Regions from separate parts of the Homo sapiens genome. Here all the other regions are linked to region 1. The links are contacts of gene promoters, found by promoter capture Hi-C in human tissues and cell types (Jung and others, 2019). All regions are on one chromosome and are shown on one strand. Each heading gives the region's core, a stretch centred on a gene start or on the middle of the fragment in contact. The rest is flanking DNA. Distances are from core to core; before and after follow the strand shown. Region 1 holds the start of IDE (insulin degrading enzyme). Region 2 holds the start of LOC107984254 (a long non-coding RNA gene). Region 3 overlaps EXOC6 (exocyst complex component 6). Region 4 overlaps CPEB3 (cytoplasmic polyadenylation element binding protein 3). Region 5 overlaps EXOC6 (exocyst complex component 6). Region 6 overlaps CPEB3 (cytoplasmic polyadenylation element binding protein 3).

Region 1 (5,074 bases), core at 1,483-3,982:
GATCATGAGGTCAAGAGATCGAGACCATCCTGGCCAGCATGGTGAAATCCCGTCTCTACTAAAAATACAAAAATTAGCTGGGCATGGTGGCGTGCGCCAGTAGTCCCAGCTACTCTGGAGGCTGAGGCAGGAGAATCACATGAATCCGGGAGGTGGAGGTTGCAGTGAGCCGAGATCGCGCCACTGCACTCCAGCCTGGTGACAGAGCGAGACTCCATCAAAAAAAAAAAAAGAAAGAAAAGAAAAAAAAGTTGTCTAGGTGGTTTACACCTTATACTTGTTTGAGTGAGAGTGGGAAAGATTACACCCTAGACCTTCACATTTCCTACTTTTTCTCATCATTCTGGGGTCTGCCTGAATGTCACTTCCTCAAAGAGGCCTTTCCTGACCACCTGTTCCTTCATATCACTTACTCACTTGATTATTATCTGTTTTTCCCACACAGCTAGAAGGTAATCTCCATCAAGACAGAAACTTTTGTCTTTTTTGTCCACTGCTGTATTCCCAGCACCTTTATAATACCTGGTATCTGTAAGGCATTCAACAAATATTTGTCAAGTCATAAATGAGATGAGCAAATCACAGGTTTTGGAATAAGACAGTCCTGGGTTCAAATTACAACTCCACTCTTTTTGTCCAATTGTTGGCAAGTTACTCAACCTCTCTCTGCCACAGCTTCCTCATCTCTGGTAGGTGAGGAAATATCCATTACAGAGGGTGGTCATGATGACTAATGAAGGAGCCATGTACAATGCCAGACACAGAGTAGACTCTCAAAATTGTTACTTTTCTTTCCATCCACCTCCTCTTTATTGAGATGATAGTTATGAGACTATATTAATATTAATCTTTCTTATCCAGGACATCTACTCCAACCAGAGGGAAATTTATCATGAAGCTAATGAAGTTTAAACTTCAGGGCTGCTCACTTGCACAGGCTCCAAACTGGGAGTTGTAGAGGGAAAGCCAGTTGTTGTCTGGAAGCATTTTTTTTTTTTTTGAGACATAGAGTCTCATTTTGTTGCCCAGGCTGGAGTGCAGTGGCGTGATCTTGGCTCACTGCAACCTCCGCCTCCAGGGTTCAAGTGATTCTCCTGCCTCAGCCTCCTCAGTAGCTGGGATTACAGACGCATGCCACCACGCCTGGCTAATTTTTGTATTTTTAGTAGACACGGGGTTTCACCATTTTGGTCAGGCTGGTCTCGAACTCCTGATCTCGTTATCCGCCCGGCTTGGCCTCCCAAAGTGCTGGGATTACAGGCATGAGCCACCACGCCCGGCCATCTGGAAGCATTTTTATGTAAGCATTTCTAATAAGTAGCCTAAAGAGATCTCAGGAAAAAAAAGGGTACTAATCTCCAAGTCTCGAGTATTTGTTGTGATGTATTTTCTCTCTATAGTAATCTTCTGATTGCTAATTTTGTATTTATAATTTGTATTTTATGTCTCAAAGAGGTCCCCCAAATTGTATATGTTTCAAGCCCTCCAAGTCTGAATCTACCCCAGCCCATTTATAGATTCCATTAATGGAGCATAAATGTATTCAGAAAGGCTGCATTAACACTCTCAGAGGAGCTGCTTCAAGGTGATTGACTACTCTGCATTGGGACTGGTAATTTAAAGGTTCTTAAAACCATGCACTTGCAAACACCACTAGGAGGCTTGCCATAATTTTTACCTGTTTTCATCCAAAGGTTTGCCTTTAGGTGAAACCGCACTGTTAAAAAGATCGTGGGTACGTCTTCGATAAAGCATCAACTTGATTAAGGAACCCTCCTACTGAATTCCCATTTAAAGCAATACTTGGACTAAGGACACCGTTTTTGGCTGCAGTCTTGATCGTCTGTCAATCAGAAACCTAAAAGTACTTAAGCTGGCAAGTCACCATCCCTAATAGCATTCTTCCTTAAAGACTCCCATAAGGTATTATGGAAAGTTAGATTCATAACAACTATTAAGTTGTTCGTGGGTGCAAAGCCCCATAAAGCCACTGGGGAGAAAATTCTTTGTTTAAAAAGTAACCACTGAAGCCGACTGACATTAGTAGTATTCCTAGTACGGAGTACTAACAAGAGTAGTAGTTTCTACTCTGGATTTGAAGCCTTGTTTTGCTGCGGCGCCCGTCCCATCCGCACCTTCCTCTTAAGAGAGCTGCTAACTTCCCCAAGGATGGAAACGTCCCCCTGGGTCCTGGCCTCTCTATCGCTGACCCCTGCGTCTGAATTTCCCCCACGCCGCACTCGAGCCTTGTCTCCAGCGCATCTGTGCCTTCGCGGTCCACGTCCCCACCGCGCTCTAGAGGGAGCCCGCGGGCCGCGCGCCGGCCGCGGATTCATTTTACGTGAGGCCGCCGCGACCACGAACCTTGTTCCAACACCTGCAGGGTCCGGCACGCTAGTCAGTGGGGGTGCCTCAGAAAACATAGCCCCGTGTGCCCTCACTGGATTTATGAGCGGCCCCTCGCCCCCTCACAGTCAGACACACGTCGCCACCCTCACAAGTGCGGCCGGTGGGATCTAGCTGGGACCCTCCCCGCCTGGGAAAGTCTGGGTGCTGGCTCCTAAAGCGCCCCGGCCAAACCCCTGTCCCTCCAGTCCGCCTGCTCAGGCCTCGGCTGTCCGCGGTCTTCACCGTCCTCGCCTGCGTCCTGGCCCCATCCGGCTCCAGGCAAAACCCGGAGCAGCTACCTCTCCGCAGCTCCCGGGAGACCGCGCGGCGCCGCGGCTAGAGCATGCGCAGTGCGCAGGGCCGGCTCGAAGCGCAAGCAGGAAGCGTTTGCGGTGATCCCGGCGACTGCGCTGGCTAATGCGGTACCGGCTAGCGTGGCTTCTGCACCCCGCACTGCCCAGCACCTTCCGCTCAGTCCTCGGCGCCCGCCTGCCGCCTCCGGAGCGCCTGTGTGGGTAAGCGGAATGGAGCGCCCGGGCCCTCGGGCCCCGTGGGTCACAGCGGTTTGGCGCTCGGGTTGCAAAGTGGTGATTCAGCACTTAAAGCCGCCACCGCTGCCCCTCACGCCGCCCGTCCCGCCGGCCTGGGGCCCGTACTGCCGCGCTGAGGCCGCCCCAGGGCCCGGAAGAGCGGCTCGCCAGGCGGGAGCCAGAGGCCTGGTCCAGAGTCGGGGACGTCCCTTGGGCTGGTGAGGGGCCGGGGCCGCTACCCGGGGCCACGGGGCGTGTGCCACTAGTGCGGGGGGCGCAGGGGCGGACAGAGTCACCCGGCCTGCACCTGGGAGCCGCGCCGCGTCACTCTCCCGGAGTCCGCCTGTGAGGGGGCCGGGAACCTGAGGCGGACTCGAGCCGTGGGGTAAAGGAATCCGGCGACTTCGGGGGGACCGCTTCTCACCTTGCCCTCAGCCCTGCCCTTTTCTCCGGGCACTGAGTTTCCAGGACCGTGTGGAATGCCCGCGCTGGGAAAAAAGTTTGCCTGCCTCCCGCCTTGGAAGACGAGTGTGGGGTTTCCTATCGGGGGACATTTAGGAGCCAAAAGATACCTCGGGATCCTCTACAGCAGCTCCCTTGTTTTACGTCGGAGACAACCGGAGCTCCGAGAGATGGCTTGATTTCCCAGCAACTGCCGAGATTGTGGCAAAACCAGGATTAGGACACAGGTTTTTTGCCATCCGGCGGCGTGCCCTCTCCACTGCACCGTTGATCTGCGTACGCTAGGCGTTTTCAGGCTTGTAGTGAACGCTGAATACTTTTTACTACGAATGGAAGAAGATAGGCAGTATTATCTTGCCCTCCCTAGAAACGTTATTTGAACCCCTGCTGGTTTTAATCAGTAATAGCCAGCACCTACTAAGTGCAGGGCACTGTGCTGGACCCTCTATGTAAAGTATGTGTCTGCCTTCCAAGGAACTTTGACTTGATTGGAGCGGATTGGGATGCCACGGGAATTGAGATAGCTACAAGGGTGTGTTGATGAGGGTCAGAAGATGGGTAGTATGGGTAGTGTGTGGGGCCAGAGATGGGGGGGTAGGCTGGCTTTGGAAGGAATGGCAGAAAGGTTGGAGTGAGGGCTGGCGTGGGCGTAATCCAGCCTAGATATGCGGGCAGTTTGTGTTGGGGGAGCAGTGAGCCGATTAGTCTGGTTGAAGCTTTATAGAATTTCCTTGGGGTAATTAGAAGGACACAAGTCCTGTATTATAACAGTAGGGTAATGCTGGCCTGGGTCTTGAATTTTAGTTGGGATTTTCCCAATGCGTAGTAGGTAGGGAGCCATTAAAGTTTTTGAGCTGGAAAGTTATCTGATGGAACTGGGGGTTTAGGAAAGTAGTTTGGTGGCTGTGTGCAGGATGTCAGGAAGTGGAGAGAGTCCTAAGGCAGAGAAACCTGTTGGGACTTAGTCTTTACTGCCTGTATTAGGATGGTAGCAGTGGGGCACTAAGATAAGCTAATACAAATGAAGACTCTATGGAACTTGTTCTCCTCTGTTTTCCACTACATCACAAAATCTCCTATAATGTGCAAAAGACCCCTGAACTTAGAGAATCAGGTGGTAAGCACAGGCAGGATGCCTCCTTTTGTCCTCTTTTGTGTCAGTCTGCTTTTGTTCTAAATTCATTACTGATAGGCTAGGCTTAGCTGTCTCCATACTGTCTCCAGCATATAGCATTTGTGATTTTTAAAGAAAGCACCAATTTTAAGTTTTGTATAACTAAGTGGTTTGTATGTTCTAGTTAAAATTACATTTTCTCTGTAGTTATAAAGTCCGGTCGACCATCCAGAGTTTTAAGATATGTTTTTCTCAAAGATGGAAATTTGAGAGATTCAAAGCATAATGAATGAGATGAGCCAGCTAGAAAGCTCTACCCTAAAATCAGTGAGTGAGGCTTTTGAGGAAAATACAGGTCCAACCAAAGGGATTAGGGCATAGTTTTAGGAAGGAAAGCACTAACATCTGAAGCTACCACATATTCTCATCTTAAGGAATGCAATCAGCCCTACTGTACATAGTCGGAAGAATGTCTTAACAGAGATAGCCACACAGCTATTTGCTGGAAGAGCTGGGATTTAACCCATGTCTATCTGGCATCGGAGCCTGAGCTCTTAACTGTTATGTATTTGCAAACACA
Region 2 (5,074 bases), core at 1,890-4,389, 460 kb after region 1:
AAAATCAGAAAATAATACTACATCTGACATTCTTGTGGGGGAAATGGCTAATCATATATGAAAGCAGATATTCAGTCACTTTATTGTTTGTTTGCAGTAATATTCAGCCTGTCATTCAAGTAACTTTAATTAGGGCTTTTCTTCAGTATCTAGGTTACTTCTCTTTATTCACCAAATGCTTGCAAATGCAAAATAGAAAGTGCATATTATTATTATTATTATTTTTTTTTTTTTTTACTGGAAGGTGTGTTTAATAACTTAAAATCTTCATCATTATAGTGATTACTTCCTGTGGCATTTTCCTTATTGAATATTAACATAAGTACACACTGTGAGACTCTGCTACAGGGCCTTGTTCCTTATGCCTTGGACATACAGTGGGGGGCAGAGGCAAAGCCCCTACTCCTACTCTCCTAAGTTTGAATTTCCTTTGCCTCCTCAATTAACCCATCTGATTTATTGGGACATCACTGATCTCAGATACAAGAAAACTGATACTGTTGTGGAAGAAAAGCAAATCGTGACGAGAAAATGGCTCTGTTATCACAGGTCTGCACGTTTACATAACAGAAAAAGCAAGGGACAGAATTATATTTGGACCAAATCCAAATCACTGAGTGATTCTACTAAATGATGATCGCATACTAAATTTTTTTTTGTTTTTTCACATACATTTTAAAGTGAGAGATATTATTTTAAATTTTAGAGGGTGAGCATCAAATAACATTGTGGTTTCTGTAATCAGTATAAATTACGCAACAATCAGTTTAAATGGGATCATTTACAACTGCTCACATAGCTCTTGAGTTTATATTAACAATGTAGAATTTAACGCAGGATAGTCTATTCCTCAAAGAAACAGGAATAATGAACACAATTAAATGTTTCACTTTGACCCAGACTATTTTTCAGAACATAAAGTCATCAACATTCATATTACAGCAATGCTTTTTCTTTTCCGCCCAATTAGCACCAATATAAATCGTTCATTCCATCTAAGGCCCTGTATTACTTCAGGGAATATAAATCTAAGTCCCGGCCAGGTGCAGTGGCTTACGCCTGTAATCCCAGCACTGTGGGAGGCTGAGGCTGAAGGATCACAAGGTCAGGTGTTTGAGACCATCCTGACCAACGTGGTGAAACCCCATCTCTACTGGGAATACAAAAATTAGTCGGGTGTGGTGTCACACGCCTGTAGTCACAGCTGCTCGGGAGGCTGAGGCAGGAGAATCACTTGAATCCGGGAGGCGGAGGTTGCAGGGATCCGAGATCGCCTCACTGCACTCCCGCCTGGGCAAGAGACCGAGACTCCCTTCTCCAGGGACGCGTCCATGGCTGAGGCGGTCGGTGGTGGCCCGGCGGTCCCGGGCTCTACTTCCTCCTCCCGCGCCCCGCAGCTCTTTCCACACTGGCAGCGCTGACGTCCCCCGCGCCCGCGGCCGCCGGGGCGGAGAAGAGGAGGAGCTGCCAGGCGGCTCTGCCGGCTGAAAGTGCATATTATTAATTTGAATTCTAATGTTTGTAATGAGACCATATGCAAAAACTCAACTTTAATTTTATCTATTACAGAAATAATTGAAAATGCAGTAAAAGAAAAATCAATACTCACATGACTTCCTAGTTTATGAAACACCTTTTTATACGTTATCTTACAACCTACATCTCTGTAAGGTAATTGGGACAAATATTTGGTTTCTTCATTTGACAGAGAAGAGAGCCAGGATTCAGAAATGTTAATATTCAAGTTCATGGTTCCACCACTTACTGGGTGATCTTGAACAAGTCGCTTAATCACTCTGTGTAATTTCCTTAAATATAAAGCAGAATTCAAAATAGGGCTTACCACATAGGGTGTGTGTGAAGATGAAATGAGTTAATGTCCACAAGGCACTTAGAACAGTGTCTGGTGCATAGTAAATCTCAACAAATGTTAGCTATTAGCTGTTATTATCACATAGCTACTAAATGTTAGGACTTGTACCCGAATCTAGACCTTCTGTCTCCTAGTCCAGAACACTTCCTAGTACCATGTGCAATTTACCTTTTAGTAAATCATTGATTGGATTTCCGCCTCACATTGACCTTGTTATTCTTGAAGGGATCTTTTTCTACTTTGTTTACTTTGACTTTAAATTTTTCAAGATCAAAAGGGAAATATGTTCGAAAGATTCTTCCTGATTTTAAAAAATCCTCTGATTTCTGTTGTCATCTGGGTTTGCTTGACCTTGAAGTATCAGAAGGTGTTTTAGCAGGTGAAGATATCATAAAGTTGTTTTCAAGAGTGATTTTGGGTGTTTCCGGTGAATTCTGTTTTGGTTGGAAGGCCTAAAGTGGGAAGTAGAGTTAGAAGAAATTGTTGAACTACAGCCCAGATTTTGGGGGGTTGGGGGGAGTTTAGCCATGTCTCTTATCTACAGTGCTGAGAGAATATTGCCATTACAGAAAATGGCAGCTTGGTGACCTCAGAGTAAAGATAATTGTTTTGACACAGGATTATTTATAGTAAAAGAGCCATCCTAAAGAAATTGGTAAACTGTTATGGACCATTTCCTGGGAAAGGAGAAATTGTTTATAGATATTTCTCTTGATAATAGTATTTGTAGCAGGCTTTTACTTGTGACTCCCAGTTGTTTTTACTCTATCTACTGCCAGTGTAGATATTTTATGGCTGTGAGATGGGCCTAAGTGAAAATCTGCGTGCTTTTGTGGGAGCTGCTCAGCTGCTATAGGGAGACAACCGCCTTTTCTTTGGATGCCCAAGGTCAATGCAAAACTGGATTTGATGTTGAAGATTGCAGAGGGTGGGCAGTGATGTGAAGGAAAAATGGAGTCAGCCAGGAGGCCTTCTTGAGGCAAGGAATAAGAGAAAGCCCCAACTCACTGGGCATTCCCTATCACCAGGCCTTTTTGATGTGTACATAATACAATATATACATAGATGGAGTACTCTGACTGCAGGGTGTTCAATATGCTTATGATCTTTGTGGATATCTGTACCAGTATTTAACTTGGTAAGAGAGGAGGTTTGAAAGAACCTGCTGAGACCTCCTCTTTGTGATATTTGGACTTTTTAACCCACCTTATCTCTAATATTATCTTTAGTAAGTAGAATTAATGTTCTCATATTAAGTGAAAACACTGAATTTTTAAGATTCCCTGGCACCTGGTGATAGTTCAATACTGTTTGCAAAAGAGGATATGAAGAAATGATGTATGTATTGTCTTTTCTAGTTTTGCAGTCAGGTTTTATTTTTCCTGACTAGCCATCAACAGAATCTTCTGACCTATGCAGCATGAGACCAAAGCCCAGAAAACAGCTCTTGGTCCTAAAACCTTGGCAGTCTCTCTCTTGCAACTACATGGCTGCCCATTCAATTTGGTGCCTTTTCCTGTGTGTTAGTTTCTGCCTGCTATGCTAGGGAGTGGCTGGTCTTTTTTTCTGCTATATTTGCCTGGATGCTCTGTATAGTAGATGGGGAGTTGGAGAAAAGGCTAAAAACGAATAGCCATTATCCATTGCCACTGTCATTACATGTTGCCCAGGACTCCAGAGAGCTTTGCTTCTTAGCCAGTTGATTATGAATTAAACACCTCTGATGTGTGAGAATCTTCTGTATGTGGGGATTCTTATCCTTCTCTGCCATTTACATTCTTCTGATATGCAATGTACCAGAGAAGAACTGTGTTGATGATGGTTTCCTTTGAGGTTAGTAGCAGAGTTGGGAGTTGAGGAATGACAGCTGAGAGATTTAGCAAAGCTAGCAGGGTTGTAGAGAAGTTGAAAGCTTAGACTAGTTCATGACGGGCCTTTGCTCTGTCATCATTTATGAATGCCAGTGTGGCCACAAGTGCCACAGGTGGCCCCTTGAATATCTGTTGCTCTCTTTAAAGTCTTTGCTGATTCTCCCAAGTTGGGCCTTTGCTCCTTGTGATTTCAGTGACACATTTTGTCCCCACTTATCTCCCTCAGCTTTGTAGTGAGTAGTTAATTGTCTAAATGTTTGTTTCATCTACTTCATAAGTTTCTTTACAAGAGGAACCTGGGGCCGGGCGTGGTGGCTCACACCTGTAATCCCAGCACTTTGGGAGGCCGAGGCAGATGGATCACTTGAAGTCAGGAGTGTGAGACCAGCCTGGCCAACATGGTGAAACCCTGTCTCTACTAAAAATACAAAAATTAGACGGATGTGGTGGCGGGCGCCTGTAATCCCAGCTACTTGGGAGGCTGAGGCACACGAACTGCTTGAACCCGGGAGGCAGAAGTTGCAGTGAGCCGAGATCATACCACAGAGATTGTGCCACTGCACTGAGATTGGGTGACAGAGCAAGACTGCATCTCAAAAAAAAAAAAAAAAAAAAAAAGGAACGTGGTCTTGCTTATTTTAGTATTCTCATAAACCATGGATATGTCCCACTTGTATCAGTTACTCGGTAAATCTTATGGAATTAAACTGAAAAAAACTGGCTGTGTCTATGGAAATCCTGCAGCTAATGTCCATTTTTCTAGACCTACTGTACTCTGCCAAGAGGGTATCTCTTAGAGAAGCAGAGCACCATCATCAGAAATAGCAGGCAAAAGCACACCAGCTTATTGTTGGCCTTTTTAAAAACTTTTTTGAAGCTTTTTGTGTGTGTGTGTTTGTGTGTCAACAAAGCTTTGTTAAAATATCATTCACATACCATACAACTCACCAATGTGACATGTGCATGTCAGTGGTTTTCAGCATGTTTACAGAGTTGTGCAATCATCAGCACAATCAATTTTAGAAAATTTATCATCCCAAAAAGAAACTCAGTGCCTATTCCCTCCAGCTTCCCCATCCTAGGCAGCCACTAATCTATTTTTTGTCTTGATAGATTTGCTGGTTCTGGACATATTTTGTCTGGCTTCTTTCACTTAGCATAATATTTTCAAGGTTTATCCCTGTGGCATGTGGCCAGCCTAGAGCTTTGTAGAAATTGGAAAGCAGGTGGTGCTTGTTTCCTGGCTACTTGTTAGTTGTGGCTAAGGCCAATGGTGAGTCCACTTGCCCTCATTAAGGATAACCAGATGTATTTAGTGGAAATTCCATAG
Region 3 (5,074 bases), core at 1,745-4,244, 430 kb before region 1:
ATTACAGACGTATGCCACCATGCCCGGCTAATTTTTGTATTTTTAGTAGAGAGAGGGTTTCACCATGTTGGCCAGCTGGTCTCAAACTTCTGACCTCCAGTGATCTGCCTCGGTCTCCCAAAGTGCTGTGATTACAGGCGTGAGCCACCACACCCAGCTGAGTCCTTCATTTTACAGGGCAGAAAAATTAAAAGGAAAGTGACTTGCCCGGGATTATATAACTAATTCAGGTTTTCTGGCATTTACTCCATTAATCCAGAATCTGATTAAGTATTCAGTCTCTCATCTTTTATCACATCTCTCATAAGAATCTAATCAATATGGAAGTGAAATTCACTAGATTATAACACTCAGGGCTTTTTCTCAAATTTTTTTAGGGGTAGAAGGCAATTTAGTGATCTGATAATCATCTGGCACAGAGGACATTCGTAATGATATGCTATTGATTCACAGCTTCGTATTTTTCCCTTTATTTCTTTAAAACTCAACTGCAGTCAATCTTGTTGTTTCTACTTCCCAAAATATCTCCTGAGTCTGAATTTGTTTCTACCTTAGTACAAACTATCATCATTTCTTGCTTGGATTACTGAAACACACCCTATCTGATCTCCCTGCTTCTGGTGCAACCTCTCCATCCACTTCTTCCAGTAGGATTTACACAGATGTGACTTGTGCCACCTCACAGTTTAACATCCTTCAATAGTTCCCCATCATCTTCAAATAAAACAAGGCTAAGGTCCTTTGCAATCTAGCCTTTGTCTATCTGCCAGCCTCATCTCATCATTTCCCTAGGGGCACCTTAGTTTCTATACCACACCAAACTACCTGTACTTCCATGCATATACCACTCTCTTTCCATGATGCTTTGATCCCTCTGCCTACAGCATCCTTCCTCTTATTTTCCATCTGGGTAAACTCTTATTTATCCTTCAATCATCGTCTTCCTTGGGAAGACTTCCATTATCCCTGCAGGTTGGCTTATGTCCTTTCTCTGTGTTCTCACTGCAACTTCCTGTGCACAGCCTAACTTCAGCACTCACTTTGCTGCCTTGTAATTGTTTATCTGTCTGGGTCTTCCCACTAAATCATGAACTCCCTGAGAGCAGGGACGGTAACTTCACTTCTACATTCTTATCACCTAGCGCAATGCCTGACTTATAATGAGTATTCAATGAAAGTTTCTTAAATGAATGAAGAAAAACAGAACCATAAATAAATTCTAAGGAATGTCATCCAGTATTGGATAGTGATATATTATGTAGCTTGTTGATTAGATTTAGAATGGTGCTGTCCAAGAGAATGTTCTGCAATAATGAAATGTAATATCCATGCTAAACTTAATTTTTGGTTTTATTTTAGTTAATTTTTTTTGCGACAGGGTCTCACTCTGTTGCCCAGACTGGAGTGCCATCACAGCTCACTGCAGCCTCCCTCAACCTCCTGGGCTCAAGCAATCCTCCCCTCTCAGCCTCCTGAGTAGCTGGGACTACAGGTGCCATCATGTCTGGTTATTTTTTTTATTTTCTGTAGAGACAGGGGGACTATGTTGCCTAGGCCAGTCTCAAACTCCTGGCCTCAAGCAGTCGTCCTGCCCTGGCCTCTCGAAGTGCTGAGATTACAGGTATGAGGCACTGCATCCAGCTTAATTTAAATTTCCTAGCCATATGTATTTATTTAACAGTGCAAATCAAGAACATAACTGTATACACTTAGTGTATTTATATAAAAGTAATTTAGGGTGGGTGAAAATACTCCTAATAGTTTCTTCAATTAAAACTAAATCATGAGCTCTTCCACTAAACAAGAAGCTCCTGGGAAGTAGTTACATACACCATACCTGTCACCTAGGAAACAGTCAATAAATGTGTGTTGAATGAATAAATAGTAATACAAATCATTTCTACTAATATTGTCTATGGTCCCAATAATTCATGGGGTCAATTTTAATCTTTTAAATTTTTAAAGAATTGATGACTAATTTTTGAAATCTCTAGAAGTACTATCGTCAAATTACTTTTTGGCTCATTCAGATTCTCATTTTGTATATAATTTGTCATATTTTGGGGATTCCTAATTCTCCTCCCTTGGACCATCTTTAAAATTTTAAAAACAATAATGCCCACTTCCCCCCCTATTATGGTGTCTTTGTTTTTGTCATTTAGCCATGCCTTTAAGGGTATTTTTAAATAACACACATTGATCCTGGTTTCCCAATAAGATATGTAAAAATCATTTCCAGACTATGAAGTGTTCTTTTTTAAGAGATTCCAAATCTTTGTTTTTTTCTCTTAATGCCTCCAATTTGACTATTTCCTTTTTAATAAACAAAATAACTTCAGGATATTCATTTCCTCTTATTTTCTGCAATAATAAATGATTTCAAATTTTCTTTTCTTTTCTTTTTTTGAGATGGAGTCTCACTCTGTTGCCCAGGCTGGAGTGCAATGGCACAATTTTGGCTCAATGCAACCCCTACCTCCCAGGTTCAAGCGAGATTCTCCTGCCTCAGCCTCCTGAGTAGCTTTGATTACAGGCATGCACCACCAGGCCCTGCTAATTTTGTATTTTTAGAAGAGAAGGGGTTTCACCATGCTGCCCAGGCTAGTCTCAAACTCCTGACCTCAGGTGATCCGCCCACCTTGGCCTCCCAAAGTGCTGAATTACAGGCGTGAGCCACCGCACCCGGCCTGATTCCAAGTTTTCAAATATTCTTAGATTAGAGAAGGAGGTGTCTGATCTTATTGGGAAGGTATATTATAACAATAGAGTAAAACTCTGCTATATCAGCCTAACTTGGAAGAAGACTAGTTTGAATCAATTTAGATGAAAGTGGGAACAAAAAATAATGTATGCGGGGTAAGCTGTGATTATAACAAAACTATCTTCCAAATTGGCAATCGATGAAGTTGGGTTTTTGTTTTGTTTTTGGAGACGGAGTCTCGCTCTGCTGTCCAGCCTGGAGTGCAGTGGTGTGATCTCGGCTCACTGCAACCTCCATCTCCCGGGTTCAAGCAATTCTCCTGCCTCGGCCTCCAGAGTAGCTGGGATTATAGGCATGTGCCACCACACCCAGCTAATTTTTTTGTATTTTTAATAGAGACGGGGTTTCATCATGTTGGCCAGGCTGGTCTTGAACGCCTGACCTCAGGTGATCCACCCACCTCGGCCTCCCAAAGTGCTGGGATTACAGATGTGAGCCATTGCGCCCAGCCGGCAATCTATGAAGTTTTAAGAGAACAAAGAATACCTGTAGGCAAAACATGAGTTATTTGTATATATAAAAAAAAAAAAATTTTTGAGTAGGAAAACAGGCCCTTCCCCTCAGGATCTATGCAAAATGTAAAGGGTTTGTTACGAGGGGGGAAGGAAAATTGCCAAGATGTCAGGCCATAAGTATTTATCTTGACTGGAAAATATAAAACCTACTCTGAAATTAAACTCAGAGGGAATTAAACTCAGAAGTCCTTGAAAAATCTTGTTCTAGGCAGACAGTTATCTTTATCATAAGGCAGAGAATGTAGATTGTTTACAATGTAGATATAGAAAACATCCATACAGGGTAGGAAGAATTGTCAGGGGGTAAAGAGGGTGGGGGAGAAAAAGGGCCCATGGAGTCATAAGAGGGAATACATCAGAAGCTTGACAAAAGACTGAAAGAAAGGGGAGGAGGCTAAGCTAAAGTTTTAAGATCTTGCTTGCAAATGACCACACAGGTGCATATAAAATGGAATAATTCTGTAACTAAATAAATGGCTGAATATGAATGCCAATATTCATTCTATTTGAAGATACTTCTTGTAATTTCATTTCTATCTAGATCTGAATATTAAAGTAGCTAGTAAGAACTCAAGTTTTGTTTAACAAACTTTGTTATTAGACAAACAAAGTATCCCATGTGAACCAGCTGTGTCGTTAGAAGGAATGACTAAGAGCACCATCTAGTGGTTTTTCTGGTGGTGAAGAACTTATGCCTGGGAATCAGGAGAGTTAGGATTCTTGGCTTTTAGATGTATTTTCTGCTGTATGCGGTCAGCAACAGTGGGATGCAAACCTCGAGGACCAACTGTTACTCTACCTTCATCACCTCATTTTTATATAAAGTAGTATCTAGTTTTCTCCATTTCTTGGAATTAAACCTGGGCAAAGTATCCTCCATCAGATAGGTTAGGTATCAAATTCAGGTATCCAAACCAGGAACAAATTCAGGTATCCAAACAGTGTAACAGCATCCAGCTTACTTTTTAAAAAGGCACTGAAATATTCTTCTCTTACCATCCAGATGATTTTGCCTTAATACTTTTATTATGGGGCACAGCCCTTTTTCAAGGCTAGAATTAGAGGTCATAGTCGCTAAAACTCTATAAACAGCATCCTTTTTTTTTTTCTTTTTTGGCTAAGCTTTCTTGTTTTGTTTTGTTTTTGAGACAGGGTCTCACTCTGTCACCCAGGCGGGAGTACAGTGGCATGATCACGGCTCACTGCAGCCTTGACCTTCCAGGCTCAAGCAATTCTCCCACCTCAGCCTCCTGAGTGGCTGGGACTACACATGTGCACCACCACATCTGAGTAATTTTAATTTTTTTTGCAGAGATGAAATCTCCCTATTTTGCCCAGGCTGGTCTCGAACCCCTGGGCTCAAGCGATTCTCCAGTCGTGGCCTCCCAAAGTGCTGGGATTACAGGCATGAGCCATTGTGCCCAGCAGGTTAAGTTTTTATCCAAAAATTAAGAAAGACCAAGGCTTTCACATTAAGAAACTTATCTACTCTCCAATAACTCACCATTGAAATAGGTGCCAGCACTCTTTAATCTGGAGCTATTCTAATGCCTTTTCTAATACCTACAGATTTCAGATGTTAAACCCTTAGGAGCTAATAACCTAACTTAGACATTTGGGCAGAATGAATTTAAAAATGTATTCTAGACCTACTCTGGATACTTCAAATATAGAATAGGTCTTTCTGATTGCCTGATGCTTGGGAAATAGTCTGTATTTTCTTAGTAACAGGAAGAATTTCTGTGACACCTTTGTAAGAACTTGTTTAGAAGACATATTAATCTTTTCTTCTATATGG
Region 4 (5,074 bases), core at 1,591-4,090, 420 kb after region 1:
CCTACATTTATGCAGAGCAGAGTTTGCCATCATATTTTTAAAAATTATCTTATTTTTATAAATAATAGCATATTAATACTATACATCAAGAATATAAAGTCGCCTATAGTTTCTAAGCTTCTGAAAAAAATACTCATCCTTTTTTCATTTTACTTTCTCCATATCTATTTGTGAGGTTGATTTTATTGTTCTCAAAAGTCACGATCTTCTTTGTATGAGGTGCTACACTAAATATTTCCTAGAATGACTTGGTCCCTGCTCTTGGTCTGCAGTTTGATAGGTGTAAATGAAGAAGAGAATGATGAGAGAGAGAGGAAGAGAGACAGAGAGAAGTGCAAATGCTAAAAGACTGAATGTTGCCTTTCTGTAATGAAAAAAGAACGGACAGAAAATGTTTTGTCCATGCTTTCAATAAGTCTTTCATTTCCAAAGCTGAAAAAGAAGTCATCTTCCTTAAATGTAATGATATAACCATATGGGATGAAGCATGTCTAGATCGCATATCTAGAACACTTATTCTCTGAGATGTATTCATTTGAGCCAACTCTGCATAGTATACTTCTGATGAATTGGCAGACTTCCTCATGCTTATTTTTTCATGTGAACAGGGATTAAATTAATGTTTGATCCCTTTCCTCTAATTAACATTTAGACTTGCCCAAAAAGAATAAAAATTAAGCTTGCTGATGTATGTTACTTCCCTCTACCTATGATTAAGGATAGAACTGGAGTTATAACTTATTTTCTATGTGTTACATAAACATGTTGGTAAACTTTTTTCTTTTTTTGAGACAGAGTCTCACTTTGTCGCCCAGGCTGGAGTACAGTGGCATAATCTTGGCTCACTGCAACCTCCGCCTCACGGGTTCAAGTGATTCTCCTGCCTCAGCCTCCCAAATAGCTGGGACTACAAGCATGCACCGCCATACCCGGCTAATTTTTGTATTTTTAGTAGACATGGGGTTTCACCATATTGGCTAGGCTGGTCCTGAACTCCTGGCCTCAAGCCATCTGCCCATCTCCCAACGTGCTGGGATTACAGGCATGAGCCACCACATCTGGCCATGTTGGTAAATTTTCTAGGAACAGAAATAAAGGGAATGTAATATATGTGAAAGTTTTTAGTTCTGTCAGCAAGAATTTGGCCAGTGGACTTTTACACCTCTCCTGATAAGTGTTGAAAAGTTTCCTGGGATGAGTAGAATTTCAGGACCTATTTGGATAATGGAATAGGAATGGGAAGCAAGACATTCTAGTATGTGTTTCTCCTTAGAAGAAGGCTTAAAGATGAGATTGCCATGACCAGAGGCTTGGAGTACATATCTCTGAGTGTATGCTGTGGGACCAGCTGGAGAGGAGAAGCTGGTAGTAGGACGATCTATGCTGCCTTAATGAATGTTTTTGAAACAGGCGGTGAAACTCCTGGACACAGATATTGTCAGGCTTTAGAAAGAGGGTTTTATGATAAAGTAATGAAAGCAGGGGATAACTTGAACATCAGCTCAAGGCTTGGATGAGGACATTGAAGGTAGACTCTTAGCAAACCAAGTGCTTCTAGTAATGTAGTTGAAGCAGTAATAATGAGAAATGAGAAGAATGACATGAAAGAATAAGATTGAAAATAAATATCAATTACATATAGTTTAAAAATACCCAATTATATTTCCCATTTATATCTATTTTGAATTTGTTCCAGTAGACAAACCTTGATTTCATTTGTGGAATAAGAATCACACCAAAGAATCTTACCATTTTTCTTTGGGAGTGTTCTGCCTTTGATAAGCTTTAATATGTGTCCTCCTATACAACTGCAACCCCTGTTAGAAACTAGTCTACCAGGTAGTGTCATTTAAGACTTTTGCCTACACATTTAATATATGCTGTGCTTTTCATTTCACATGAGAATGAGTTTTTATGCTCTCCATGAAACTATTGTCCATAAGTAGACATGTTGGCTATGCCAGTATTTTTGATGTTTAGCAGAATTTCTTAGTTATAGAGCAGTAAGGAGAATATGAAAAGTCCTTTTAACAATGCAAATGAGAAAATACAACTAGTCTACCAGGTAGTGTCATTTTGGATTTTTGCCTACACATTTAATATATATTGTGCTTTTCATTTACATGAGTATGAGTTTTTATGGTCTCTGTGAAACTCTTGTCCATAAGTAGACATGTTGGCTATGCCAATATTTTTGTTTTTGTTTTTTGCTTTTTGAGATGGAGTCTCACTCCATCGCCCAGGCTTGAGTGCAGTGGTGCAATCTTGGCTCACTGCAGCCTCCGCCTCCCAAGTTCAAGCAATTCGCCTGCCTCAGCCCCCCAAGTAGCTGGGATTACAGGCACGCACCACCATGCCCGGCTAGTTTTTGTATTTTTAGTAGAGATGGGGTTTCTCCATGTTGGCCAGGCTGGTCTCGAACTCCTGACCCCAGGGGATCGCCTCGGCCTCCCAAAGTGCTGGGATTATAGGCATGAGCCACTGCACCCAGCCCATGCTAGTATTTTTGATGTTTAACAGAATTTCCTAGTTATAGAGCAGTAAGGAGAATATAAAAGGTCCTTTTAACAATGCAAATGAAAAAATACAAAGAATGATTAGAGTTACTGTTATAAATGTACTCCTGCATATATTTAGTTCATAAAAAATATATTGATATTAATGGGTTGCATAATTGATAACAAAAGTTCTAAAATCCAATCAAACAAACTCGTGTGCTGAGTTAAAGTTGAGTATTTCTGTCAAAAGCCTGCTCGAGGGAAGAGAGATCAGCTATTCCAGGGAGACCATGCTAGAAGCACGCCATCCTGCTAATTCAAACCCAGTTGTATGAGCTTGCTTGTTTAAAGGTATGGATGATTCTAGAATAAAACATGGACGTGAATCGGAGAATTTTCTGAATGTTCATGGTTGTAATATCTGAAAATGTTACTGCTCATAGTAATAGGAAAATTTGAGCACAGATGATAGTGAGGGGAAGATGACTAGTTTTTCACTGTCTTGGGAATTTAATCTGGGAGGGGCCAAAAGAAAGACTGAAGGAGGGATTTTCTGGGCCTTCCACCCAAATTTTACTCATTAAGTGTCTGCATACCTATACTGTACTAGACTCCAGATGTGGTCTCTGACACTGTTCAGTGGTCACTCTTGTAGGGAGAGAGACAATAAATAAGTGAAACGAATATATTTATTCTTAACAGTTGTGATAAATACTAGGCAGAAAAGAATAGGGGAGGTCACCTCTGAAGAGGTGATATTTAAACAAACTGAAAGGATGGAGAGATAGCTATCTAAAACTTTTTGGTATTAAGGAATTTTTAAATATATACAAATGTAGACTAGTTTAATGAACACCAATATATCCATCATCAGCTTCAATTATTATCAGCATTTTTGCCAGTTTTGTTTCATATATTCTCTTCCCTTTTTCCCTGGGAATATTTTAAAGGGAATTTCAGATATTATAAGACAGATAGCTAGTTTAAAAGGGGAAGGTGGAAGGAACTGCATTTGTAAAAGGCTTGAAGCAAAGTACAGATACATGCTACAACATAAACCTCGAAAACATTACACTAAGTGAAAGAAGCCAATCTCAAGAGTCACGTATTTGTATGATACCATTTATATGAAGTGTCCAGAATAGACAAATCTATTGAGACAAAACGGAGATTAGTGGTCGCCTAGGGCTGAGAGGTTGGGGGAAAACCAAGAGTGACTGCTAATGGATTAAATGGATCAATTGTGTGATATGAGAATTATATTTCAAAAAAGTCGTGTTTCTTTAAAAAAAGGCTTGAGGCAAGAAAAGGCTTACTTTGAGGAAGCCTAGAATGACTGATGCTTGGTAGGTGATGGAGGAGTATGTCTTAAGATGAGTTTGGAGGAAGGAAAGAGAATCTGATCTTGCTGGACATTAGCTCCTGGTAAGGATTTTGAACTTGGTCCAAGTACAAGAGGAAATCTTTGAAGCTTTAAAGCAAGGTCAAATGATTGGATTTATGTTTTTAAAAGAGCACGTCTGGTTGCTGTTTGGAGTGAAGTGAAAAGAGAATTGGGTTGCCTTGTTAGGAGGTGATGTCAGGCATGAGATGAGGATAGTTAGGATAGGGTGATGGCAGTGGAGTTGGAGAGAAGTGAACAAATTAAAGATAGATCTTGGAGAATGGGATCAACAGTAGTGTTTAACAGATGGTGTCAGGTTGCTGAATTAACCTTGGAGGGTAAATAAGAAGGAAGACTCAAAAATGATTTTGAGATTCTGGCTGAAGTGATTGGGTGAATTGTAATGCCACATATTGAAATGGGACTGGGAGAGAATAAGTTTAAGGTAGATATCAAAAGTTCACTTGTAAACACATTAAGTTTGTGATGCCTAAGAAATACCAGATATTAATATGAAGTAAATCTATTTTTAGGTAAGATTTCTGTGTAATAAAAGGGATTCTCCTGTTCCTGGGGATCTGAAATCCTGCCATCTAGTTAAACTCTCTCATTATGCAAATGAGACCATAAGTGAAATGTTTTTTGTTCAAAGTCACCTACTGGACACTAGGCTGGAACCTATCTTGACTTCTAGGGAATATGTATGTATTTTATGAGGGAGTCATGCCTCATAATTCCTTTTTCTTAAACCCCCAAAGTGACTGATTGCTGAGCTACTTACAAGACTAAAATGAAAAGAGTCAGGCTTGGAGTAGAAGTGCTGGGCCAGAGGTACCCTGGAGCTGCTGGAGTGATGGCAGAGGCCTTGGTGGGAGCTCAGAGGTGAGGTCCCAGCAGCTTTCACAGCATAGCTTGGCCAATGGGCTTTTGTTTTTCCATCATTTGCTGAAGGAAAGGGAGCCTTCTGGGGAGGAATTATCTTGGACAAGCCTTCCATGCTTAACTAATGCTTTGCAAGTCTTCTATTTGGCACTTTTCCTGCAAGCTTGTTTGGTTTTAAGCCATCTCCACATTCAGAGATGATTTGTCCAATTACTGGACCAAAAACTAATTATAGATAGTAATTGAAATAGATATCAGAGAACCAGACCATTGGTTGAAAGCCAAATGGCCAACTTGCAGCATTTGAGAA
Region 5 (5,074 bases), core at 1,605-4,104, 360 kb before region 1:
CCTCCTACATAGTCTCCCCAACTTCCAGCCTGTCCCCTACCAGAATGTCCAGCTGCCAGAATGATATTTTCCAGCCTGTCCAGCTGCCAGAATGATATTTTTCAAATAGTAATCAGATTATATCTTCTGCCAAAACCTTTTATGGTTTTATGATTGCCTATTGTTTATAATTTTAACAAGGCATATAGAAAAATATTTGATCATTTGACTTTCATTCATAAAAAGTTTATTACATGAAATATTTCATATTTCAATTAAGTTCAAATGTTATGTTTTGCAAATTTCATGAATGTGATCAAATTTTCATACATCTGGGGTTTTCTTCAGGTGTTTTGGGGGAAGAATTATTAATACGTTTTAGCTTAGAAATACTGTGATTGGAAAATATAGTCTACATGTCACCAAATGCTTGATATTTCCTGATACTTGCTTTATAGCATAGTATGTAGTCAAATTTTTAATAATGGTCCATGTGTGCTTGAAAAGAATATGTTCCTACAGTTGTTGAAATAGGATTCTATATATTCCATTAGATGAAGCCTATTAAGCATGTTTTGTATTCTTACTGATGTTATGTCTACTTGGTTTAGAAGATACTGACACATATTTTAAAACTCACTATACTTGTGGATTTTTCTATTTCTCCTTGTAGTTGTGGCAGTTTTGCTTTAAATACTTTGAGTCAATGTTATCAAGTGCTTATAGGTTTAGAATTACCATTTTTATCAACTCAAAAGCACACAAATAACAAAAATTTTATTCTTATCATTCTAGCTTTCCCTGTATTATATAAAAGTATATATACCCTGTTTCTATTCCTTCAGTAGTTACTCTGGAAATCACATTACACATCCTTAAGTAACCAAACTCTAAAGCTAGTCAATGTTTTTACTCTTCTGCTGGACGCTTCAAACTGTAGGATAGTTTAATTTCACTAACTTCCATCTCATTCTGATGTTTATGTTACTGTTGTGTATTTTAATTCTATCTTATTTTTTCTTATTGCTGCTGCACAAATTAAAATTCTATGTTGTTTTAATGTCCACAATATTTTACATTATTTCCTACAGTCATTTTAGATTTACCTAAATATTTATACTTTTTTTGCTATTCATTCCTTCTTGCATCTCACATCTTCCCTTTGGCATCACATTCCTTTTGTTTGAAGCATATCCTTAGGATCTCCTTAGTAAGCGTGTCTTAGTGGCCAACTCTGCTCTTCTTTGTCTGAAAATGTCTATCTCTGCCCTTGTTTCACTGGATATAGAATCCTAAGTTGACAGTTACTTTTTTCAGAATTGAAAATATTTTATTGTTTTGTTTACTTGAAAATAACCTCTTTCTGGGTACCTTTAAGATTTTCTGTTTATGTTTGTTTCTAAAGTTAAGTTTATTGAGGTACAATTTACATATAATAAAATTAACCCTTTTTTACATGTAGAGTTCACTGAGTTTTGACAAATGTAGACAGTTGTGTAACCACCAGATAAATAAAAAAATACAACATTTCCATCTCAGAAAGTTTCCTCCTGCTCTTTTGTAGAGAATTATCCTGCCGAACCCATAGCCCTTGGCCACCACTGATCCCATTCTGTCCTAGAGTTTTGTCTTTTCAAAAATGTCATATAACATTACTCATATTATATATAACTTTACTGCATATGAATTTTTTTCACTTAGAATAATACTTTTGAGATTCATCCATATCACTGCATGTATCAATTCCCTTTTAGTGCCGAGTAGTTCCATTATATAAAACATACAATAATTTGTTTATACATATGGATGTACCACAATTTATTCACTAGTTCACAGACATTCAGATGTCTCTAGTTTTTGGTGTTTATAATAAAGCTACTACAAACATTCACATATGAGCCACTGTATAAAGATACATTTTCATTTCTCATGGATAAATACCTAGGAGCAGGACTGCTAGGTCATAGAAGAGTTTGCTCAACATTGTAACAAATTGCCAAACCATTTTCCAAAGTGGCAGTATAATTTTATATCTATCAGAAGTGTATGAGAGTTCCACTTGATTCACATCCTCACCAGCACTTGCTATTATCAATCCTTTCAATTTTAGTCATTCTAGTAAGTATGCAGTGGTATCTTATTGTGGTTTTAATTTGCATTTCCCTGACGAAAAAATTATACTGAGCATCTTCTCATATGCTTATTTGCCATCAGTTTATCTTTGGTAAAATGTCTATTCAAATCTTTTGTCCATTCTCCATCCAGCTTTGTTCCTAGAGCGTGGAATGGACAAAAGATTTGAATAGACATTTTACCAGAGATAAACTGATGGCAAATAAACATGTGAGAAGATGTTCAGTATAGTTTTTCACAATGAATATGCTAATTACTCTGATTTGATCATTACACATTATATATATATGTATCAAAATATCACTCTATGTCCCATAGATATGTACAATTATTATATGTCAACTAAAAAAAATAGCCTGACAGTTGTTCTTATATACACTTAAATTTGTTTCTCAATCATCTATTCTGTTCTATTTTCTGTTTATTCTAGTAAACTCAGTACTACACTAAAAAAAAAAATCTTTTGTCCATTTTTAAATTGGTTTATTGGTCTTCAATTACTGAGTTATACAAGTTCTTTACATATTCTGGATAAAGCCCCTTTTTAGACATGAGTTCTGCAAATATTTTCTCCAAGTCCATATCTTGCCTTTTCCTTTCCTTTTTTTTTTTTTTTTTTTTTTTTCTTCTGAGATGGAGTCTTGCTCTGTCGCCAGGCTGGAGTGCAATGGTACGATCTCAGTTCACTGCAACCTCCACCTCCCAGGTTCAAGCGATTCTCCTGCCTCAGCCTCCCTAGTAGCTGGGACTACAGGCACACGCCACCACTCCCAGCTAATTTTTGTATTTTTAGTAGAGACGGGGTTTCACCATGTTTGCTAGGATGCTCTCGATCTCTTGACCTCATGATCCGCCCGCCTTGGCCTCCCAAAGTGCTGGGATTACAGGCATGAGCCAGCTTTTTCATTTTCTTAACAACACCTTTTGAAAAGCAGAAGTTTTAGATTTTGATGTTCAAATCATCTATTTTTTTTCTTTTATGGCTCATGCTTTATGTAACTCACATAGGAAAATACTATAAATACATTATAGAGTAATAAAGATTTTATCCTTTGTTTTTTCCTAAAAGTTTACAATTTTAACTCTTACATTTAGGTCGATGATCCCCTTTAATTGTTGAAAGAAGTGAGTCAATATTCATTTTTTGCATATGGATCATTTAATTCTCTTGCAGTCAGAGGATAGACTTTGTATGATTTCAAGCTTTTTCTATTTATTATTATTATTATTATTATTTGAGACAGAGTCTCACTCTTGTCACCCAGGCTGGAGTGCAATGGTGCGATGTCGGCTCACTGCAACCTCTGCCTCTCGGGTTCAAGTGATTCTCCTGCCTCAGCCTCCCGAGCAGCTGGGATTACAGGCACGCGCCACTATGCCTGGCTAATTTTTGTATTTTTAGTAGAGATGGGGTTTCACCATGTTGGCCAGGCTGGTCTCAAACTCCTGACCTTAGGTGATCCGCCTGCCTCAGCCTCCCAAAGCGCTGGGATTACAGGCGTGAGCCACTGCACCCAGCCCAGCTTTTTATATTTGTTGATGTTTGTTTCATGGCCCAGAATATGATATTGGTGAATCTTCCATGTGCACATGTAAAGCGTGTGTATTCTTCCATCCGGGGTGGAGTATTCAATAAATGTCAATCAGATCAAGACAGCTGATAATAGTTTTCAGGTCTTCCATTCCTCTTTATCTTTGGTGTTCTGCAATTTAATTATAAAGTTTCTAAGAGTGTATTTCTTTTTATTTAAGGTACCTGGGATTCCTTGGACTTGACTCTGTGGATTTCTATTTCTCATCTGTCCCAGAAAATTCTCAGCCATATGGCATCAAATATTCTTCAGTCTCATTTGCTCTATCCTCTTTCTGAAACTCCAATTAGATATATGTTAGACTTCTCTGTATCCCTCATGTCTCACTTCAGTAATTTTTCCTTCTGTGTCTTTGTGATGCTTACTTCCACATAGTTTCTTCAGATTAACTAAGAGAGAATTCATCAACTGTTAAACCTATTCATAATATTTTTAACTTCAGTTAATATGTATTTAATTTCTAGATATTCTACCTGATATTTCTTCACATCTATTTGGTCATTCTTTATAGTTTCTGTTCCCTATTTATATTAGCAAGCTTGGCTTTTATTTCTTTAAATATACTAAGTAGCACTATTATATACTCTATGGCTAATAATTCAAATATCGAGTCTTTTAGAATCTATTTTTGTTGTTAATATTTCTTACGATTCTCACTCGTTTGGTAATTATTTCTGACTGTGAATTGCTCAGTTTAACTCTGGAATGAAGGTGCAGAGATCTGTATTTGCTTCTGCCAGGCACTTGGAGATAGTATCAGGATGGAAATACTTGAAATGTTGAGCTTGAGATGTCTTTGACTATCCATGTATGATGAATTTGGGTTGCAAACACAAGTGGTAACAAACTGCTTATTATGAATTCTCAGAAGGATTTTTTCTCTCGTTCACTCAGCAAGATTTGAGATAGGTAATTTTCCTTACAGTATTCGCCAGAGGGAACAGAAGGATTTTTAGATGGTTTTATCTCTAGCTCATCCTAATAATGGGGCTTTAAATCCTTTGGAGTCTCAGCTTACAAGGGAGACAATCTCTTATTAGACACCTACTTTGGGTGGGCTCTGGGCTTAGCCCTCTGTACCCAATGTCGTCAAAACTCATGCTTTCCTACTCAGCAGATTCTCCTAGGATAAAAGCTATATTCAGTGTTTCATTAAACCTATCTGCATTTCTGCCTTCATTTGGGTTTTCCTGTTTTGATTGTTTTATAGTCAGATATATTGAGGTATTAGTCACATACAATAAAACTCTTCAATATTCAGCTTCTATGAGTTTTACAAACACATCTACTAATGTAACTATCACCACAACCAATATATAGAACAGTTCCTTATTCACTTAGTTTCTTGTCTTTTTGTTTGTTTGTTTTAA
Region 6 (5,074 bases), core at 820-3,319, 320 kb after region 1:
GGCTGAGGCAGGCGAATCATGAGGTCAAGAGATGGAGACCATCCTGGCTAATATGGTGAAAACCCCATCTCTACTAAAAATACAAAAAAATTACTCAGCGTGGTGGTGGGTGCCTGTAGTTCCAGCTACTCAGGAAGCTGAGTCAAGAGACTCTGTTTAAAAAAGAAAAAATTTATATAAAAATATCTGATCTAGTGAACATTTTTTGACCTAAGATGAACACAAATACATGAAATATATATATATATATATATATATATATATATATATATATATATATATATATATTCAAAAAATATAATTGAAGTCTGGAAACTGAACATAGATGAAGGCTACTCATCTTTTTCTCCTATTCCTATGGAATATGCACACATGTATACTTGTGTCATAATCTGAAAAGGAATCTCCAGCTAATAAACATCAGCTATAAGTATTTAATTTATCTGCACTATTTCATTATCATATGATGGTATGATGAAGAAGAATGACAAAGTATTAAATATATTAGGATGTTGGCCAGGCACGGTGGCTCACGCCTATAATCTCAGCACTTTGGGAGGCTGAGGAGGGTGGATCACCTGAGGTCAGGAGTTCAAGACCAGCCTGGCCAACATGTCAAAATCCTGTCTCTACTAAAAATACAAAAATTAGCCAGGTGTGGTGGCGGGTGCCTTTAATCCCAGCTACTCAGGAGGCTGAGGCAGGATAATTGCATGAACCCGGGAGGTGGAGGTTGCAGTGAGCCGAGATGGTACACCATTGCACTCCAGCCTGGGTGACAGAGCGAGACTTGGTTTCAGAAAAAAAAAAAGGAAAGAAAAAAATACATATATTAGGATGTTAAAAGGGACTTAATATTATTTGGCATATTGAAAGAGTTGAGAGGCCGGGCACGATAACTCACGCTTGTAATCCCAGCACTTTGGTAGGCTGAGGTTGGCGAATCATCTGAGGTCAGGAGTGTGAGACCAGCCTGGCCAACATGGCGAAACCCCATCTCTATCAAAAATACAAAAATTAGCTGGGCATGGTGGTGGGCGCCTGTGATCCCAGCTACTCAGGGGGCTGAGGCAGGAGAATCGCTTGAACCTAGGAGGCAGAGGTTGCAGTGAGCTGAGATTGTGCCACTGCACTCCATCCTGGGTGACAAGAGTGAAACTCCATCTCAAAAAAAAAAAAAAAAAAGAGTTGAGGTCCTTTTCTACATTATTACATTATCAGGAACCGGATTCTGTTTTTTTATACTATTTATACATTGTTTTTATGTAGAAGCTAATTTCTAGTGGAAGTATACACTGCTGCAAGCTTTCTAAAGCAATTTGTTGGCAAGGTGGTTCACCCCTGTAATCCTAGCACTTGGGAGGCCAAGGCAGGAGGATTGCCTGAGCCCAGGAGTTTGAAACCAGCCTGGGCAACATGGCAAAACTCTATCTATACTAAAAATACAAAAAATTAGCTGGGTGTGGTGGCCCAAGCCTGTAATCCCAGCTACTTGGGGGACTGAGGCAGGAGGATCACTTGAGCCTGCGAGGTTGAGGCTGCAGTGAGCTCTGATGGTACCACTGCACTCCAACCTGGGAGACAGAGGCCCTGCCTTAAAAAAAAAATAAAATAAATAATTTGTTAATATGTATCAAAATCAATGTTATGCCTTCCAATTGAGCAATTTCTTCTTTAGAAATAAGGCTCAAGGAAACAGTCAGTTTGGAAAATAGTGAAAACTTGGAAACAAATCAAATATCCTCCAACAGGAGAAAGGTAAATTATACTGAATTTCAATATGGAATGTCTTCATAAACATTAAACTTTGTATTATTAAGCATAGGGTTTTGGAACACATTCTATGGCAATAGAATCCATAGAACTTCTCTTTGTCTAATGTTAAAGAAGTGCTTTACATTTCAACAAATTGGGATAAAAGGTATCTGTTCTTTGATTTGATAAACAAACTTTTATCCAGTATCTCTATGTTTTAGGCCCAGTACCTGGGTTACAAAGATGAATATAGTCCCAAACCTGGAGGTCTTCTAGGAAAGGCAGATGTGTAAACAAATAATTACACTGAAATATGAAGAATAAATACTGTAATAGAGATATATGTGTCTTACAAAGTTGTATAAAGGAAGGAATCAGCAATTCTGCTTACATGGTCAAGGAAAGCTTCAAATAATGGACATTTGAGTTAGGTTGGCATGGCTGGGAAGAGTACGTGTAGAAGAGTTAAGTTTGGGCTGGGCACAGTGGCTCATGCCTGTAATCCCAGTACTTTGAGAGGCTGAGGCGGGCGGATCACGAGGTCAAGAGATCGAGACCATCCTGGCCAACATGGTGAAACCCCATCTACTAAAAATACAAAAATTAGCTGGGTGTGGTGGCACGTGCCTGTAGTCCCAGCTACTCAGGAGGCTGAGGCAGGAGAATTGCTTGAACCCAGGAGGCGGAGGTTGCAGTGAGCCAAGATGCGCCACCGCACTCTAGCTGGGCAACAGAGTGAGACTCTGTTTCAAAAAAAAAAAAAAAGAAAAAAGGTTTGTATTTTATCCTCATGGCAAGGGAAAAGTTATTGGAGAGTTTTAGGAAGGGGCATAACATGGTAAAACTATGTTCGAATGATTACTCAGGATTTAGTATGGAGGCCACATTTGGAAGAATACTAGATGAGAGACATTAGGAGATCACTGCTGTAGTTCAGGTACAGTATTATACTGGTTGTGAATGGAGACGATAGGATGTCAGTCAGAAATTTAGGAGGCAGGATTAATAAGTTTTATCAACCAGTTGGACTTGTCTCTCAGGGAAAAGGGGAAGAATCATGTCCAGGTTCCTAACTTGTGTGACTACACTGATGGTGGTGCCATTAAATAGGATAAGTTAACCAAATATAAATGCACAAGCAAATTTATGGGAGAAGAGGTGCTAATAGGATCTTCTGATAGAGAAATAGTTAAAAGCAGTCTGTAGCTTAAAAACATTTCATCCGGAGACCTAAACAGTGGTGAACTTTATGAATATAACATTGATTAGGGAGAGTATGCAGAATTAGGAGAACCCTGGGGGAGACTGTATTTAGGGGCAGAAGATTGAGAAGAAACATTAAGAGATAAGTAAAGATACAGGAGAGCAGTATCTTAAATGAAAATGGAATAGTGTTGTATTAGTTTGCTACTGTTGTGTAACAAATCATCACAAGCTTAATGGCTTAAAACAACATTTATTAACTAACAGTTCCATAGGTCAGAAGTGTGGTGCACCACGGTTAGGTTCTTTGTTCAGGGTGTTAATAGACTGAAATCAAGATGGTGGCCCTGCGGAGTTCTCATCTAGAAGCTCTTGGGAGAAATCCATCTTCAAGTGCCTTCTTGTTGGAAGAATTGCAGTTATAGGATGTGGGTTCTTTTTTAGCTTCTAGCCTGGAATCTTGGGAAGGCATCTTAAATTCTTATCAGAAGTGTTTTATGAAGAATGCACAAAGAAAATAGGACTTGAAAAGTGTTAGTTGGTCATTGGTGACTTTGGTAATGTCAGTACCAAGAGCAATTTTTGTAGAATGGTAGGGGCAGAAGCCAGACTGCAGTAAGTTGGGGAGTTAACTGGAAGTAAGGAAGTTAACTAAGATCTAGAGTTTCTTTCAAATAGCCTGCCAGGAATGGGAATGAGAGAGCTGAGAATAATTAAATTAATGAGCTAGGTCTCAAGGAAACTAGAAGGAATGGGTTCTAGACCACAGAAGGAGGGATTAATTGTGGTCTTGTAGGGAGACTCAGCTTCCTCTGAGAAAGGAGGAAAGGGAATATGAAAGGGAATACAGGTAAGTTTGTAAGGGAGGGCTTGTTGGTGGGCAGTAGGGAAATTGGAGACATTACTACCTAATAGCCTCAGTATTCTCTTAGGAGTTACAGACAAGAGAACTGGGTGCAGCAGCTCATGCCTGTAATCCCAACACTTTGCGAGGCCAAGGCGGGAGAATAACTGGAGGCCCGGCATTTGAAACTAGCCTGGGTGATGTGGCAGCACTCCATCGCCAGAAAAAAAAATAAAAATAAAAATAAAAAATAAAAAAATAAGGAAAAGGGAAAAGGAAAGAAAAATTAGCTGGGTGTGGTGGTATATGCCGGTAGTCCTAGGTACTTGGGAGACTGAGGTGGGAGGATCTCTTGAGCCAAGGAGATCAAGGCTACAGTGAGAGGTATGATCATGCCACTGAACTCTGGCTTGGGTGACTGAGCGAGCAAGACTCTGTCTGTATAAAAAGAAAAATGTTAGAGACAAGGTCTATAAAAAAGGGAGGTAAAATTGGAATTGCTACTTTGTGGCCAGGAGGCCCTTCATAAAATTATGGAATGAATGAAACGAATTAACCCAAGACTAACAAACAGAGAGTGAGAAACATAAAAAAACCCAAGGTGCTCTCCAGATTGTCCACTAAGCTACATCTAGCTCACCTGGCTACCTTTTTGCTCCCTTTTCTCTTATTCTGTTCTCAAACTTAGTCATGTCTAGAATTACTTAACAGATCATCACTCAGAAGATGTGGACTTCCTGCATGTAAATTGCCTTAGCTTTTAACATTTTTAAAAGCTTTCTAGGTTACCTAGGGAATATTGAATAATTGACCAAAATTATTATTTCTTTTCTTAGACTGTGAGCTCTTTGAAGTCAAGGAACTTTGCATTTTTTTTTTTTTAAAGGCAGGGTCTCACTCTGTTGCCCAGGCTGAGGTGCATTGACACAATCATGGCTCACTGCAGCCTCAACTTCCTGGGATCAAGCAGTCCTCCCACCTCAGCCTCCTGAGTACCTGGGACCACAGGTGCACATCACCATGCTCAGCTAATTTTTAAATATTTTGTAGAGATAAGGTCTCACTATATTGCCTAAGGTGGTCTCAAACTCTTGGGCTCAAGTGATTCTCCTAGTTCAGCCTCCCAAAGTTCTGGGATTACAGGCATGAGCTACCATGCCTGGCCACAGAATTTTGAGTCTTTACAAACTCAAATCTTTACATTTGGTGCCTCTAGTACAGCCTGGCACATAGGGAACCCCTAGTTTATTTCTTTAGCTTAAATGACACAGA

Evidence for each region. Contacts are between HindIII fragments. The study calls those that stand out against the background at their distance.
Region 2: a fragment that was not itself captured here is called in contact with the fragment with the promoter of IDE in region 1 in 1 of the 25 tissues and cell types used here (mesendoderm cells).
Region 3: a fragment that was not itself captured here is called in contact with the fragment with the promoter of IDE in region 1 in 1 of the 25 tissues and cell types used here (mesenchymal stem cells).
Region 4: a fragment that was not itself captured here is called in contact with the fragment with the promoter of IDE in region 1 in 2 of the 25 tissues and cell types used here (mesenchymal stem cells and spleen).
Region 5: a contact is called between a fragment that was not itself captured here and the fragment with the promoter of IDE in region 1, in 1 of the 25 tissues and cell types used here (mesenchymal stem cells).
Region 6: a contact is called between a fragment that was not itself captured here and the fragment with the promoter of IDE in region 1, in 2 of the 25 tissues and cell types used here (bladder and spleen).

The regions. Positions count from the first base shown.
Region 1 is chr10:92,571,751-92,576,824 of GRCh38, reverse strand. It overlaps IDE (insulin degrading enzyme), which reads left to right and starts at 2,732. Exons shown (of 25, transcript NM_004969.4): 1 at 2,732-2,903. The coding sequence starts at 2,806. RefSeq lists enhancers at 2,073-2,312, 2,323-2,382 and a silencer at 2,883-3,332. The HindIII fragment of the contact is 24,485 bases long and covers 1-4,745 here.
Region 2 is chr10:92,111,415-92,116,488 of GRCh38, reverse strand. All of the region lies in intron 6 of CPEB3 (cytoplasmic polyadenylation element binding protein 3), which reads left to right. It overlaps LOC107984254 (a long non-coding RNA gene), which reads right to left and starts at 4,106. Exons shown (of 2, transcript XR_001747551.3): 1 at 1,610-4,106; 2 at 961-1,484. The HindIII fragment of the contact is 3,715 bases long and covers 1,282-4,996 here.
Region 3 is chr10:93,005,507-93,010,580 of GRCh38, reverse strand. All of the region lies in intron 19 of EXOC6 (exocyst complex component 6), which reads right to left. Among named protein-coding and RNA genes, the nearest start is that of CYP26C1, 53 kb to the left of the region's middle. The HindIII fragment of the contact is 4,871 bases long and covers 559-5,074 here.
Region 4 is chr10:92,150,923-92,155,996 of GRCh38, reverse strand. The region is part of intron 4 of CPEB3 (cytoplasmic polyadenylation element binding protein 3); the gene reads left to right. Among named protein-coding and RNA genes, the nearest start is that of CPEB3, 140 kb to the left of the region's middle. The HindIII fragment of the contact is 3,217 bases long and covers 1,232-4,448 here.
Region 5 is chr10:92,928,779-92,933,852 of GRCh38, reverse strand. All of the region lies in intron 9 of EXOC6 (exocyst complex component 6), which reads right to left. Among named protein-coding and RNA genes, the nearest start is that of EXOC6, 83 kb to the right of the region's middle. The HindIII fragment of the contact is 4,610 bases long and covers 550-5,074 here.
Region 6 is chr10:92,253,840-92,258,913 of GRCh38, reverse strand. All of the region lies in intron 1 of CPEB3 (cytoplasmic polyadenylation element binding protein 3), which reads left to right. Among named protein-coding and RNA genes, the nearest start is that of CPEB3, 35 kb to the left of the region's middle. The HindIII fragment of the contact is 3,631 bases long and covers 254-3,884 here.